3 separate regions of the Homo sapiens genome follow, and regions 2 and 3 are each linked to region 1. Evidence: promoter capture Hi-C in 16 types of primary human blood cells and fetal thymus (Javierre and others, 2016). All regions are on one chromosome and are shown on one strand. Each heading gives the region's core, a stretch centred on a gene start or on the middle of the fragment in contact. The rest is flanking DNA. Distances are from core to core; before and after follow the strand shown.

Region 1 (4,937 bases), core at 1,738-4,237:
GGCAGGCGGGCCACATCCTCCACTAGAACCCGAGGTGGCGGCGGGGTCAAGGATGACGAGTTATCTTCGGGACATTAGGAGGAAGCCCCACAGGCTGCAGTCACGTGGGTGGGCAAGGATGAAAGGCAAGGGAACCCAGAGAATCAAGTTACAAAGAAAAGCAAATGCCGCCAGCACAGTGGCTCACGCCTGTAATCCCAGCACTTTGGGAGGCCGAGGCGGGTGGATTGCCTGAGCTCAGGAGTTCAAGAAAAAAAAAGCCTGGCTAACATAGTGAAACCCGTCTCTACCAAAAATAAAATAAATAAATAAATAAAAGCTGGGCGTGGCGGCACGTGCCTGTAGTTCCAGCTACTCAGGAGGCTGAGGTAGGAGAATCGCTTGAACTAGGGAGGCGGAGGTTGCAGTGAGCCGAAATCGCACCACTGCACTCCAGCCTGGGCGACAGAGCAAGACTCTGTCTCCAAAAAAAAGAAAAGCAAATGCTCCAGGACCTTGGGGATTTTAAGAATATGCTGCCGAATAATTTGGAGAGTTAAACAGAAAATCATAACTGAAATCTACAAATTCCTCGAACAGAAAGGAAATGAAACTCCACATGTCACCTGGCACAGCAGAGGCTGTGATTCAAGGACAGGCTGAGGGTGAATGAATCCACACATCCGCTCTAAGATGCCTGATCCCAGCATTGTATAGAAATGGAAAGATACGGCCGGGTGCAGTGGCTCACGCCTGTAATCCAGCACTTTGGGAGGCCAAGATGGGCGGATCACAAGGTCAGGAGATCCAGACCATCCTGGCTAACACGGTGAAACCCCGTCTCTACTAAAAATACAGAAAAATTAGCTGGGCGTGGTGGCGGGCGCCTGTAGTCCCAGCTACTCAGGAGGCTGAGGCAGGAGAATGGTGTGAACCCAGGAGGCAGAGCTTGCAGTGAGCCGAGATTGCGCCACTGCACTCCAGCCTGGGCGACAGAGCGAGACTCCGTCTCAAAACAAAAAAAAGAAATGGAAAGATACTGCCCAGATGTGGTGGCTCACACCTGTAACCCCAGCACTTTGGGAGGCCAAGGCAGGCGGACCACCTGAGGTCAGGAGTTCGAGACCAGCTTGGCCAACATGATGAAATCCTATTTCTACTAAAACTACAAAAATTAGCTGGGCGTGGTGATACATGCCTGCAATCCCAACTACTCAGAAGGCTGAGGTGGGAGAATCAGTTGAACCTGGGAGGCAGAGGTTGCAGTGATCGAGACTGCAGCACTGCACTCCAGCCTGGGCAACAGAGACTCCGTCTCAAAAAAAAGAAAGAAATAAACGTGAGTGGATGGCTGTGCTGTTTGTATGGACCAGGAAAACTTCTAGAAGGATAGGTAAGGCAGTGTCCATAACTCAACCTGGGAATTGAAGCCAGGGTGGGGAGGAAAAGGCAACAGTTGGTTTCATTCTATTTTGTTTCTGTGCCTGTATTACTTCCAAAATAAACAAACTAGTTTCACTTTCACAACATGAAATGCTTTATCAGGATATGCGTTTTCCTCCAACCCCCAGTGGTGTCCCCTCACGGGACAAAAGCCTGCCAGCCTTCAGCTGCCCTCCAGAGCCTCACGGTGCAGGTGCTCCTGCCTAAGCAGCCGGACCCCCCTGCCCCCAGGAACTGCAGCCCCCTCTGAGTTGAGAGATCTAGTAGGCAGGAAAAAAGGAGAAGGAAGCTGTGGCTGCTGGGGGATGTGGCCTCGGGGACAAGCCCCTCTGTGCAGAGGACGTGGGCAGGTGGGATTTCAGCCCCCTCTCCAGCATCTCACTGGCAGCCAGGGTGGCTGGGGTTTCCCCGAGGGCGGGGGCTGGGGAATCTGACCTCTGTGCCCCGGCCATGGTGCCGTCTTGCTGGGAGGATGACAGGCTGTGTTTCACCTGCCAATTTGGCGACAGTTTCTCTTTTGGAACATCCCGGGGGACTTTGTTCTGTGCCACCCACCTCTGGACCCTGGGTCTGATGGCTGAGCTGCAGGCTCCAAGGTTCAGCGTCCAGTCTGGCCCTGCTCCGTCCATTCCCCACATTTGAGGGTTTCCCGGAGTTTGGTTCTGCTTCTTCCTCTCTTCCATGAAACTGGGGGCATTGCCCACGCCCCAGTGTCCCCCATCATCTGCCCGGTGGGGACTTGCCCACTCACGTGACTGCAGCCTGTGGGGCCTCCTCCTAGTGTCCCGAAGATACCTGGTCATCCTTGACCCCGCCCGCACCTGCCCGCGTGCCCCCTCGGGTTCTAGTGGAGGACGTGGCCCGCCTGCCACCCCGCCAGGCGCCGGGTCCTCCAGGCCTCCTCGAGCCACCTCCTGCCCACCTGGGATGTCTGTGGGTTCCCGGCCCGGATGCGTCTTGGAGCCTTCTACCCGCACCCCAATCTCCTGCCCCAACAGGCTGGGCCCCTCCTCCCGGGCTGGCCAGGCCAGCACCTCCGCAGGGGCCGCAGGACGCCTGAAGGCCCAGGCCGCAGGTGCAGGACCCTCTGCGGGGGAGCTGGGGGACATCACTCCTCTGCTCTGCGCGCTTTTATGAAAGGGCCTCTGACCCTCCGGGGGTCCAGCTCACTCTGCCCGCGCACTCCCAGGCATCTGGGGGCCGCCCCCCGCCCTCCCTCCCCGCGGCCCACTCGGCCCGCCCAGCTCGCCCCGTGCACAGACTCGAGGCCTCCAGGAGCGGAGCCAAACAGCCCCGCGGGGAACGCGCGCCGCACGCGAGCTGGACCCGCCCAGGCACGAACTCTCCTGGAAAAATGCTCCCGGCGGCTTTCCTGCTTCCTTTAGCGTGAACCGCGGGTGCGGTGCCTCCCGTGAAAATAATAAATTCACCGTCACGCTTGTTGTGAACGCGGGTGGTTCCCGAAACTTGGAGGCTTCCCGTAAACCCAGCTCCTTCCTCATCTGGGAGGTGGGTCCCGCGCGGGTCCGCCGCCTCCTCCCTGGCCCCTCCCTCTCGTGTCTTTCATTTTCCTGGGGCTCCGGGGCGCGGAGAAGCTGCATCCCAGAGGAGCGCGTCCAGGAGCGGACCCGGTGAGGCGCGGAGAGGGGCGGGCGGGGGAACCAGAGGGGCGGGCTCGGTGCTGGGGACTCGGTGCTGGGGACTCGGTGCTGGGGACTCGGTGCTGAGGGCCCGGTGCTGGGGACTCGGTGCTGGGGGCTCGGTGTTAGGGCCTCTTGGTGCACTGGGGTTGCCGGTCCGCGCAGGGATGGGGACTCTGGGGCTGCGGCGCCTCTGCCTCTGGGACCGTCACCCCCCGCTGGCCCTGAGCGTGCGTCGCAGGCCAGGCGGGCGGGGTCGCAGCGGGCGTACCCGAGTATGGGCGGGAACGAGCTGCCGGCCGGTGTGGGGACCCGCGTCCCTGCCCTGTGCGCCAGGCTCGACTCTTGAAGGGACAGAGGCGGCGTCTCGGACCCGGGGCTCCCCTAAGTCCGATGGGTCGGAGCCCCCTCCTCCCTTCCCGGTCCTCGGCCTCACCCGGGGTTCCCTGCGCCGTCGCTGCGACCAAGCTGGGAGCAAAACGCACTCGCTCATATGCGTGCACACAAGCTGGTGGACACACGCACATGAGCACACGCAGGCACGCGTGGACTGTTGCACACTCCACAGCCACAGCCTCGTGTGCACTCACAGCAAACTCATGAAACAGGAACCGTGAGGCTTCCCTCACCCGGCAGGCCCTCAGCTGCCCGTTCTCACGCGGGTTTTGCTGACTCCGCAGTAATCACCACATTCAGTTCCTTGCCCACTACTGGTGAATCACCTGCAGCTTGAGAAGCACGTTTTCTGCCGGTGGTCAGCAGAGGATCCCCGGCTTCTAGGAGGCCCAGGGCGACCGGCTGCAGGAGCCCGCGTAGGAGGCCTGTCTCCAGCAGGGCGGGGGTGGTGGCAGGGCCTCTCCACGGGGCTGCTGCTGAGCCCAGAGCGGGAGGACAGGAGGCCACCAGCAGAGGGGACAGGTGAACAGGTGCTGAGCAGGAAGGGTTAGCCCGGTCTAGCCCCAGGCCTGGGGGGCTTTGCTGCTCACCTGGGGTCCCCTCTGGGCCTGGCTCAGCAGAGACCAGGGCAGAGCCGTCCACACCGTGGGCCTGGGTGGGGTCCATGGCCTCTGCAGGCTGCAGCTGTCTTCTGAGAGGTGTTGGTGTGCTCATTCTCGGTAGAGACGTGGGGTCACCTGTGTTCCCTGAGCCCCTGCAGCAGCTGGGAAAGCAGTGTCAGCCACCCCTCAGGTGCTGTGGGGGTACAGAGTCCACTGACCACACAGGAGGACCCCAATGAACCCAGCCCGAGGGGGCCGGAGCTTCCACACACCCAGCACCCATGGGAGCCGGGACAGGCAGGCGCCCGGGGCACCAGGGAGCGGGAACAGGCATGCGCAGGCGTGCTGGGCGGTGCGTGAACTTTCCTAGGCGTGTCACTGGCATGGCTCCAAGCCTGCGCATCATCGCTTGTCAGGGAGCACTCAGACCCTGCCGTGTCTGGTGCCGGCGCCTCAGATACCGACCCCTGTGTTCGTGGTTTGAGAGAAATCTGATTGCCGCCTCCATCTTTTCCCGCTCTAGAAGTTTGTTTTTTGTTTTGTTTGGTTTGAGACGGAGTTTCGCTCTTGTTGCCCAGGCTGGAATGTAGTGGCCAGATCTTGGCTCACCACAACCTCCACCTCCCTGGTTCAAGCGATTCTCCTGCCTCAGCCTCCCAAGTAACTGGGATTACAGGCGTGCACCACCACGCCCGGCTAATTTTTTTGTATTTTTAGTAGAGACGGGGTTTCACCACGTTGTTCAGACTGGTCTCAAACTCCCGACCTCAGGTGATCCACCTGCCTCAGCCTCCCAAAGTGCTGGGATTGCAGGCATGCGCCACCGCGCCCGGCCCACTCTAGAAGTTTTGAGGCTCCGTGCGCCTCGTCTCCCTGT
Region 2 (4,937 bases), core at 1,486-3,985, 440 kb before region 1:
TTGAGACCAGCCTGGTCAATATGGTAAAACCCCGTCTCTACTAATGACACAAAAATTGGCCAGGCATGATGGCACATGCCTGTAATCCCAGCTACTCAGGAGGCTGAGGTGGGAGGATTGCTTGAGCCTCAAAGGCAGAGGCTGCAGTGAGTTGAGATTAGACCACTATACTCCAGAATGGGTGACAGGGCAAGACTCCATCTCAAAAAAAAAAAAACTCACTGCAGCACCAACCTCCCCAGCTCAGATGACCCTCCCACCTCAGCCTCCAGAATAGCTGGGACCAAAGGTGTGTACCACCACACCTGGCTAATTTTCTTTTATTTTTTGGTAGAGACTGAGTCACATTATATTGTCTAGGCTGCTCTCAAACTCCTGGGCTCAAGCTATCCTCCCACCCTGGCCTCCCAAAGTGCTGGAATTACAGGCATGAAACCTCCACGCCCAGCTAGATTTATTTTTCGGAGGGCTGCCTTAAAATGTTTCCAATGCTTGTCTCGGTTTTTTTTGTTTGTTTGTTTGTTTTTTCCCATAACGATACACTTAGAAGATCTTTTTTTCTGGGGCAGGCTTTTTTTTTTTTTTTTTTTTTTGAGACGGAGTCTTGCTCTGCTGCCCAGGCTAGAGTGCAGTGGTGCAATCTTGGCTCACTGCAACCTCTGCTTCCCGGGTTCAAGCAATTCTCTGCCTCAGCCTCCCAAGTAGCTGTTCATTTGTAAGAGAACAGTTGAATAAATATGAAAGGATCACAGGCACTAGCCACCATTCCCGGCTAATTTTTGTATTTTTAGTAGAGATGGGGTTTCACCATCTTGTCCAGGCTGGTCTTAAACTCCTGACCTCGTGATCCACCTGCCTCGGCCTCCCAAAGTGCTGGGATTACAGGTGTGAGCCACCGTGCCCGGCCTCCGGGGCAGGCTTTCTAACGGCAATCACAGAGTGCCAAGTCTTGACAAACCATGCTCCCTTGACCTGGCAGTCCCTCTCCACAGACAAGTAAACAAGGGTGGGTAAACCATACTACTTTTTTTTTTTTTTTTTGAGACGGAGTTTCACTCTTGTTGCCCAGGGTGGAGTGCAATGGCGTGATATCGGCTCACCACAACCTCCGCCTCCCAGGTTCAAGCGATTCTTCTGCCTCAGCCTCCTGAGTAGCTGGGACTACAGGCACGTGCCACCACGCCCAGCTAATGTTGTATTTTTAGTAGAGACAAGGTTTCTCCATGTTGGTCAGGCTGGTCTCGAATTCCTGACCTCAGGTGATATGCCCACCTTGGCCTCCCAGAGTGCTGGGATTACAGGCGTGAGCCACCGCACCCAGCCCATCACCACACTACCTCTAACGTAACAAAACAAGAACAAACAAAACATCCATCTATCAGAGAGAATTTTAAATTAGATTACAATGGAGTACCTTTTCCCTTAACGATTATGAGGGGGACACTTTCTGACATCGTAAGACACTAAGAACGTGTTGCTGAGGGTAAAAAGGACTCAGAACAGCAGGTCATGGGGCAATGCTGAGCCCTGATGAAGAGCACAGACTCCAGATAAACCGCCTGGATTCAAACATGGATCCACCATTTATGAGCAAAGTAAACTAAGTTATTAATTTTTATGCCTGTTGCCTTCTCGGTTAAACGAGGGTAAGAATTGTCAACAGCCTCATGAAGGAGAATTCAATGATTATTAATCACAGTTAATTAATCACTGATGATCTATCAATCATCAACGTATAGGTTAAATTTTTTTTTTTTTTTTTTTGAGATGGACTCTCGCTCTGTCACCCAGGCTGGAGTGCAGTGGCGTAATCTCAGTTCACTACAATCTCCACCTCCCAGGTTCAAGGGATTCTTCTGCCTCAGCCTCTTGAGTAGCTGGGATTACAGGTATGTGTCACCAGGCCCAGCTAATTTTTGTATTTTTAGTAGACACAGGGTTTCACCATGTTGGCCAGGCTGGTCTCGAAGTCCTAACCTCACGTGATCTGCCCGCCCCGGCCTCCCAAAGTGCTGGGATTACAGGAGTGACCCACCATGCCCAGCCCAATGTATAGGTTAAATTATTAATCCATAAGTGATTAAAGATTAATCTATGAGTGTTTGAACGGTGCCAGGCACACAGCAGGCACTCAGTGAATGCTGACCAGGGCTGTCGCAGTCAGCGTGGCAGGAAGACCGAGACAACTGAGATGGCTCAGAGCCTGACAGCCTCCTAGTGCTCGCTTGCGTAGGCTGGACTCGGTGACTTGCTGCTAACCACAGGATCTGGCAGAGGAATGGGACGTCACTTCCATGATCAGGTAACATATTATCATGACTTCCATCTCATTAGCAGAGTTTCTCCCTTGCAGGCTTTGATGGAATAAGTCACTAAGTTGGAGGGGCCCAGGTGGCAAAGAACTGAGGGTGGCCTCAATCCAACGGCCTTGGGGCAAAGCCTGCCCATGTCGAGTTTTAACTGCAGCTGTGGGCAAGCTTGACACAAAGGACCCAGCTCAGCCATGCCAGACTCCCGACCCACAGAAACTACAAGAGGATAAATGTGTGTCAAACACTCAAGTTTGGGGTAATTAGTTATGATCCAATAGATAACTAATACAATAAGCTGTGTTTATATGCATAATATTTACATCAGGAAAAGTTCGGAGAAAATAAACAACTTATCTCTTGGCACTAGAATTTCATAAATTTAAATTTAGTATTTTTCTTGCTTATCTTTATTTTCTAGTTCTCCTACAAATGAGCATCTATTATTTATATAACGTTAAGAACTAAATGTAAAATGGGTCCTTATTCTCTCTCACCATGCCACTAAACCCTTCCTTATCTGCCATGATTACCCTCAACAGAGTATTTGCATCATCTACAAAGAAATGAGATTTGCTAACTCAACCTGACCCCTACATGAATTATCACAATTTCAAAATAAGTTATCCTATGGGATTTTACCCCACTGAAAAAAACAGCAGTTGAATACATATCAGAAGCTTACCGAGTAAACCACTAACATCAAGACAGCATGAACATGAAAGTGAGTACTAATTAGCAGCTAATTATCTGCATGATATTTACCTCTGCTATTTGGAGAATACGGTCCATTATGGACATTCGTGCTTGCCCAGGCTGGGTGAGGAGGTTCCCGTCAAGGCGAGAAAAATCAAAAGGGATCAGGCAGGTCACGGAGAGCCAGAGCAAAAGCATGTAGCGGGTTTCCCAAGCCTAAAAAATTAAACCACGGGAAGAATGAGTCTTGCTTGAAAATCACAGGCCACTGGCCACAATCTACTCAAAGTCACTGCCCTCCATGCCCACCCAATGCCTATGAAAGCCATTCAAATGCCATCACCCTCAGGGCCAGAAATGCAAGCCGTTCACCAACTCCTCGCCACATCCCCCCCGGAATCCCCACCACACACACCTACCGCCGTAACTTAGCTCAGCAGACAAGAGAGACATCAAAATGAACAAAGAAAAATCATAATACATCAGTATAGCAGCTTCTCTTCGCTGGCACCTCTCCACATACAAACTGGCCTTTTGAAAAAGTGAAAAACAGATAAAAAGTAAAAACACCTAAGAATAAAGAAAAAAGGCCAGGTGTGGTGGTTCACACCTGTAATCCCAACACTTTGGGAGGCCGAGACGAGCGGATCACCTGAGGTCAGGAGTTCCTTTTTTTTTTTTTGAGATGGAGTCTCGCTCTGTTGCCCAGGCTGGAGTGCAGTGGCGCAACCTCGCTCACTGCAAGCTCCACCTTCCGGGTTCACGCCATTCTCCTGCCTCAGCCTTCTGAGTAGCTGGGACTACAGGCGTTTGCCACCATGCTAGGCTAATTTTTGTATTTTTTGTAGACACAGGGTTGCACCGTGTTAGCCAGGATGGTCTCGATCTCCTGACCTCGTGATCCGCCCACCTTGGCCTCCCAAACTGCTGGGATTACAGGCACGAGCCACCGTGCCTGGCCGAGGTCAAGAGTCCTAAACCAGCCTGACCAACATGGAGAAACCCTGTTTCTACTAAAAATACAAAATTACCCTGGCGTGATGACACATGCCTGTAATCCCAGCTACTCAGGAGGCTGACACAGGAGAATCGCTTGAACCTGGGAGACAGAGGTTGCAGTGAGCCAAGATTGTGCCATTGCTCTCCAACCTGGGCAAGAAGAGTGAAACTCTGTCTTTTTAAAAAAAAAAGAATAAAGAAAACAATTATCAACTTCTAATAAAAAAGGAGTACCCTTATTTTCAGTAATTAGTAAAAAACATCCCAATTTGTCCCTGCAATCATTCCACTGGGGGGCGCTAGAAGTACTAGGGAAAGAAGGGCACGGAGTGCAGGGCAGCAGGGAAATGCCCCACAGCGCTCATCAGTCACATCCACGCCGAGACAAGCCACCGCACTGCACGGTTATAAACCGTGTGCTCCTCCAAATACATACCACGCAGAAGACAGCGAGCATAGCAGGCCCCGCTGCCGTCTGAGGCAAGGCCCCTGACGAGGCCGGCCCTGGGCTGGTATCCAGGGACCTGGACACCAGCAGGGTTCCCACCAAGCCCTGCCTGATGAGGTCCCTCGCTGGCTCAATCTGCACAAACCGTGTGCTTTACGCTGGCACCTGCTTTCCTGCTGGGGGTCTGGAATTTCGTTTCGTGCCAGGCAGAGGTGTCCATGTGGCCAGACCCCAGTGAAAGCTCTGGGCACCAAGTCTCAAACGTGCTTCTCTGATAGACACCTCACAGGTGTGGTCACATCTCACTGCTGGGGGAATGACACAGGCCCTGTGGGACCCAACTGGAGGACCCCGGGAGCTCCCGCCTGGTTCTCCCCAGACCCCACCCATGTGCCTTTTCCCTTTGCTGATTTTGCTGTGTATTATTTTGCCATAACAAGTGACAGCCAAAAGGAGGACTCTATGCTGAGTGCTGTGAGTCCCGC
Region 3 (4,937 bases), core at 698-3,197, 260 kb before region 1:
TGCTTCTCAACATCACTGTGCACCCCATACACTTGCACAATTATTCTGTGTCAATTAGAGAACAGTAGTGAGAGGCCTGGAGTGAAAAGAAACTGGGAGGCCGGGCGCGGTGGCTCACGCCTGTAATCCCAGCACTTGGGGAGGTCAAGGTGGGCGGATCACCTGAGGTCAGGAGTTTGAGACCAGCCTGGCCAACGTGGTGCAACCCCGTCTCTACTAAAAATACAAAATTAGCCAGGTGTGGTGGCGGGCACCTGTAATCTCAGTTACTCAGGAGGCTGAGGCAGGAGAATTGCTTGAACCCAGGAGGCAGAGGTTGCAGTAAGCCAAGGTCATGCCACTGCATTCCAGCCTGGGCAACAAAAGCAAAACTCTGTCTCAAAAAAAAAAGAAAGAAAAGAAATGGTGACACTTAAATACTCTCATCCACCCAGCCCTGCCCTCACAGAGCCTCTGTCGCGAGGTACTCCGCCACGTGGAGACCCCACATGGAGCCCTGTAACAGCAGAGGGGCTGTGCTAACACGCCCGGCCCTGAAGCAGAGGTCTCAGCAGAGGCTCGGAGGGAGGTGGAGGGCACGCAAGGAAGACTAAAGGCAGCAGAGCCCTGGAGGTGCCGGAGCTGGGGAGGGAGCAGCCATCAGCCCTGCAGCCCCGGGGTGGGCCACAAGAGAGGGCGACCCCTCTCCTCCAGGGCAGAGAAGGAACACACACACGAGTTGGGCACATGCTCCTGATGAGGCCCACACGTGCTCTCTTGGGAAGGCACTGACTCTGTTGATCTAAAGATGCTGAATAAGGCAGAAGGGTCTGTGCAGCGAGCACTGCAAACTCTGGTTTGCACCGAGGACCACATGGTGCCAGGAAGGACCATCCTGGACAAGGAGTGTGATGTATGAGCACCTCGGGCCCACGTGACCTGTGTCGACACGGGTGTGTTACAGGGAGTCACGGCTTAGCGCGTGGGGCCTGGAGGCGACCCTGCCCCTGGGCACACCCAGAGGCGCCGCCGCCTTCACCAGCCCCTGCCCCTCACCGGCTGAACTCGTAGACAGGCTTGCTCTGTGTTCCGTGAGAGCTCTGAGCACAAGGGGCTCTCGCCACGCCTGACAACCCGGGGACTGTAACTTGGAGCAGCACTTCAGCAAGCCCGGGAGGACTACAGGAATTTCCTACCATGAAATGGAACCTGAAGTAGGTGAGAAGATGGGGAGGGGGTGGTCTGTGGAATAAAACAAACGTGAAATCAAGGAGATCGGCAGAGATCAAAGAAAGAGGGGCTCCGCCAGCTCTGCCACACACTCTGGATTCAACACCGTCCCAATCAAGACGCCAGCAGGCTTGGTGTAGGAATCCTACAGTTCACGCGGAAATGCCAAGGACCTAGAATGGCTGAAGCGATTTTTAAAAAGAACAAAGTTGGAGGAGCGACACCTCCTTAGTGGGAGACTTGATGAGGCTGCAGGAGCTGGGCAGGGAGCCCTGCCACACAGACTGCCCGCAGAAAGTGCGTCTGGAAACAGTCCCCACGTGTGCGCGGTCCCGGGGCGTGACGAGGGCACCAGGGCAACCGGTGGGGCAGGCACGTCCTGACGCCACCTCTGAGGCTCCCCCTACACCAAGCTCTGAGGCTCCCCCTACACCAAGCTCTGAGGCTCCCCCTACACCAAGCTCTGAGGGTCCCCCTACACCAAGCATGGAAAACACAGCAGGAACGATGAGAAGGGAACAAGCAGCCACCAAGAATCTGGGCAAGGAACGTGTTCCAGAATTAAGGCGTCAGCGAACAACTGCCCTAGTAACGTGAAAGAAAAAGAAGAAGGGACTCAGGCTACTGAAGGCGAAGCAGGAACTGACCTGCAGTTGGTGTGAGCTGGGCAAACCCCGTGACCACCTCAGATGCTCCTCCCTGCAATCGCGGTCGCAGTCTGTGGCCGCAGGTGTGGCCTCAACCGACTCTAATGTGTCTACAAAAAATGTGCAGACAGCCGGGGCCACTGCGGTAGGCCAGAGATGCACAGACGCGCAGTGTGACTCTGGTTTCCAGTGGCCTTTCTCCTACGCTGACTCGGAACAGCATCCACGCTGTAGGTGTCTCTGGACAACCTTCCACCTGTCGTTTCTCATCCCAGGTTCCGGGCTGCCGGAAAAGGCTTTGCTCTTGTCTCCAGAAGCACCTGCTGGTCTGTCTGGATGGGGCCTGCTGTGTCAACTGAGGCAACTCCAGTCTGAGCTGGCACATGGGGGCCTTCTGAGGCCAAGGGGCCCTGGGGAGAGGAGTGGGAAAGGACCCCAAGTCACAGGAGCCAGGTGCACTTTTAGGGCCCAGGGAATAGTGACACAGGCTTAATAACAGGGACCGACCCCACTGTTAGAGCTTTCAACGAAGAAAAACCGTGACCACATGTATAGCACTCTGTCCTCTCCAGTTCAAACACAAGGAGAAGGCTGGGCGCGGTGGCTCACACCTGTAGTCCCAGCATTTGGGGAGGCAGAGGCGAGAGAATCACTTGAACCTAGGAGTTTGAGACCAGCCTGAGCAGCACGGTAAGACCCCATCTCTACAAAAGAAAAAAAATATTAGCTGGACATGTTTGTACGTGCCTGTAGTCCTGGCTACTCAGGAGGCTGAGGCAGGAGAATCACTTGAGCCCACGAGTTCAAGGCTGCACTGAGCTGTGATCACGCCACTGCACTCCAGTCTGAGTGACAGACCCTTTCTCAAAAAACAAGACAAAAGCCGTAGAACCTGAAAACCAGGCAAGACAGGCCACTTACCTTGTGACACCTCCACTATTACCTGTCACAAGGAAAGGACGACCTAATGGGAATCTGTTTACAGAGCTGTACAAAGTCTTAGAGAAACAAGCAAATTACCCCTGCCCCACGGCACACCAAACCCTGCTGCATCCCACGTTGCCCCCATGGTTAGAACTTGCCTATCCACAAAATGCTGTCAAAGACAATGTATGCCGGCTTGCGTTTCTATTCCTCCATTTACTTACTATGTGGAGAGGGTCTCACCCTGTCTCCCAGGATGGAGTGCAGTGGGGCGATCACGGTTCACTGCAGCCTCAACCTCCCTGGCTCAAACGATCTCCCTGCCTTAGCCTCTTGGTGGCTGGGACTACAGGTGCTGCCGCCACAGCCACTTTTGTGATTTTTTGTAGACACAGAGATTCACCATGTTGTCCAGGCTGGTCTTGAACTCCTGGGCACAAGCAGTCTGCCCACCCTGGTCTTCCAAAGTGCTGGGATTGCAGGCGTGAGCCACGGCGCCCAGCTGTTCCTACTCCTTTAGGGAAAGAACTAAGTTCCTCTGCGAGTCCATCTACAGAGACGGGCTCCGCTGCTGCCTACTCCAATCTGCAGACACTCACAAGGGGACGTTCCCCACCCTGAGGGTCCTCACTGATTCAGAGGGCGGCTTTTGGAAAGATGACTGCGGAGATGCATTCACATTTTTGGCCTTCCATGCACACTAATCCTCCCCACATAAATTCCAATATTTTCAAACTGAAGTGTCTGGAGCATTTTTTTTTTTTTTTTTTTTGAGACAGTCTCGCTCTGTCGCCCAGGCGGGAGTGCAGTGGCGCGATCTCAGCTCACTGCAAGCTCCACCTCCCGGGTTCATGCCATTCTCCTGCCTCAGCCTCCCGAATAGCTGGGACTACAGGCGCCCGCCACCATGTCCAGCTAATTTTTTGTATTTTTGGTGGAGACAGGGTTTCACCGTGTTAGCCAGGATGGTCTCAATCTCCTGACCTCGTGATCCGCCCGCCTCGGCCTCCCAAAGTGCTGGGATGACAGGTGTGAGCCGCCGTGCCCGGCCTGTCTAGAGCATTTCTTAGCGGCCAACTTTTACTCCACAGGCAACCTACGTCATAACACTTGACAACACCCCAGTTGTGGGCTGTGTGGGTACTACACGCAGCAAGCCCCTCCGAGACCTCCAGGAAGCATCAGAAGACCCTATACTGTGGACAGAGACGCCGGAGCAGCTCAGACACGAGAGCAGCTGCTCCACTGCCACCGCCACAGCGATGATGGGTGCGGCTCCCGCAGAACACAGGCCCCGACCCGAGGCCTCGCACCTCCTCGTCCGCGTGGCCTGATCCCGCTGCTCTGGGGCTGTCAATCCAGTGGCGGCAGCTGCTGCTCTGCCTGGAAAGGCTCCGCTTTGAGGCTGGGTGTGAAAGACGTCCAGGGACCCTCAGACGTCACTGCCGTTTTACATGCTCACAACGCAACACCCATCGTCACTGTGGGACCAGCTAGGGATACCCACATCATCAAATCCTCACCCCAAATCTGGCTGCCAGATCCCCACCGAGGCACGCGTGAGCACCTGGCGGCCACAAGGGACCCGCAGCCTCAGCCCGGCTCCCCTGTGTCCTGCTCTGTGCCGATGCACTGCTCCCTCTGCAAGGGTCCTTGTGAGGGACATGGGACCGTAATTCCTCTGTGGGGCCGGGAGCCAGAAGGCTCGGAAGGCCCACACTCTCCCAGGTATGTGGCCTGCAGGCGTGGGGCTATAGCCGTCCAGCCAGCTGATCCTGGCACAGGCACCCGCACAGCACGCGGTGAACAGGGCTGGGCTCCGCCAGGGGGGCGCGGGGCTTCATCTACCTTCCTCTGTGCCTATCGCTCTCCTTTCCTTCCTTCCTCTTTCCCTCCCTCCCTCCCTCCCTCCTTCCTTCCTTCCAGAAACTGCTGCGTACCCTTTCAGAATAAGAGCCTGTGCCCGGTACAGGGAGACCTTCACAGGGTCTGCTTTCAGAATAAGAGCCTCTGCCTGGCACAGGGAGACCTTCACTGGGTCTGCTTTCAGAATAAGAGCCTCTGCCTGGCACAGGGAGACCTTCACTGGGTCTGCTTTCAGAATAAGAGCCTGTGCCCGGTGCAGGGAGACCTTCACGGGGTCTGCTTTCAGAATAA

What was found. Contacts are between HindIII fragments. The CHiCAGO score rates a contact against its expected background, and 5 or more counts as called.
Region 2: a contact is called between a fragment that was not itself captured here and the fragment with the promoter of SECTM1 in region 1, in 1 of 17 cell types (endothelial precursors). The highest score is 5.8, in endothelial precursors.
Region 3: a fragment that was not itself captured here is called in contact with the fragment with the promoter of SECTM1 in region 1 in 1 of 17 cell types (endothelial precursors); the score reaches 5.9 in endothelial precursors.

Annotation. Positions count from the first base shown.
Region 1 is chr17:82,331,816-82,336,752 of GRCh38, reverse strand. It overlaps SECTM1 (secreted and transmembrane 1), which reads left to right and starts at 2,987. Exons shown (of 5, transcript NM_003004.3): 1 at 2,987-3,053. RefSeq lists enhancers at 1,564-1,633, 3,681-4,483 and a silencer at 4,360-4,644. The HindIII fragment of the contact is 7,811 bases long and covers 1-4,937 here.
Region 2 is chr17:82,766,704-82,771,640 of GRCh38, reverse strand. TBCD (tubulin folding cofactor D) reads right to left here. Exons shown (of 39, transcript NM_005993.5): 5 at 3,075-3,221. Among named protein-coding and RNA genes, the nearest start is that of TBCD, 17 kb to the right of the region's middle. The HindIII fragment of the contact is 512 bases long and covers 2,480-2,991 here.
Region 3 is chr17:82,593,111-82,598,047 of GRCh38, reverse strand. The region is part of intron 8 of FOXK2 (forkhead box K2); the gene reads right to left. Among named protein-coding and RNA genes, the nearest start is that of FOXK2-AS1, 7.2 kb to the right of the region's middle. RefSeq lists a silencer at 4,648-4,848. The HindIII fragment of the contact is 9,092 bases long and covers 1-4,937 here.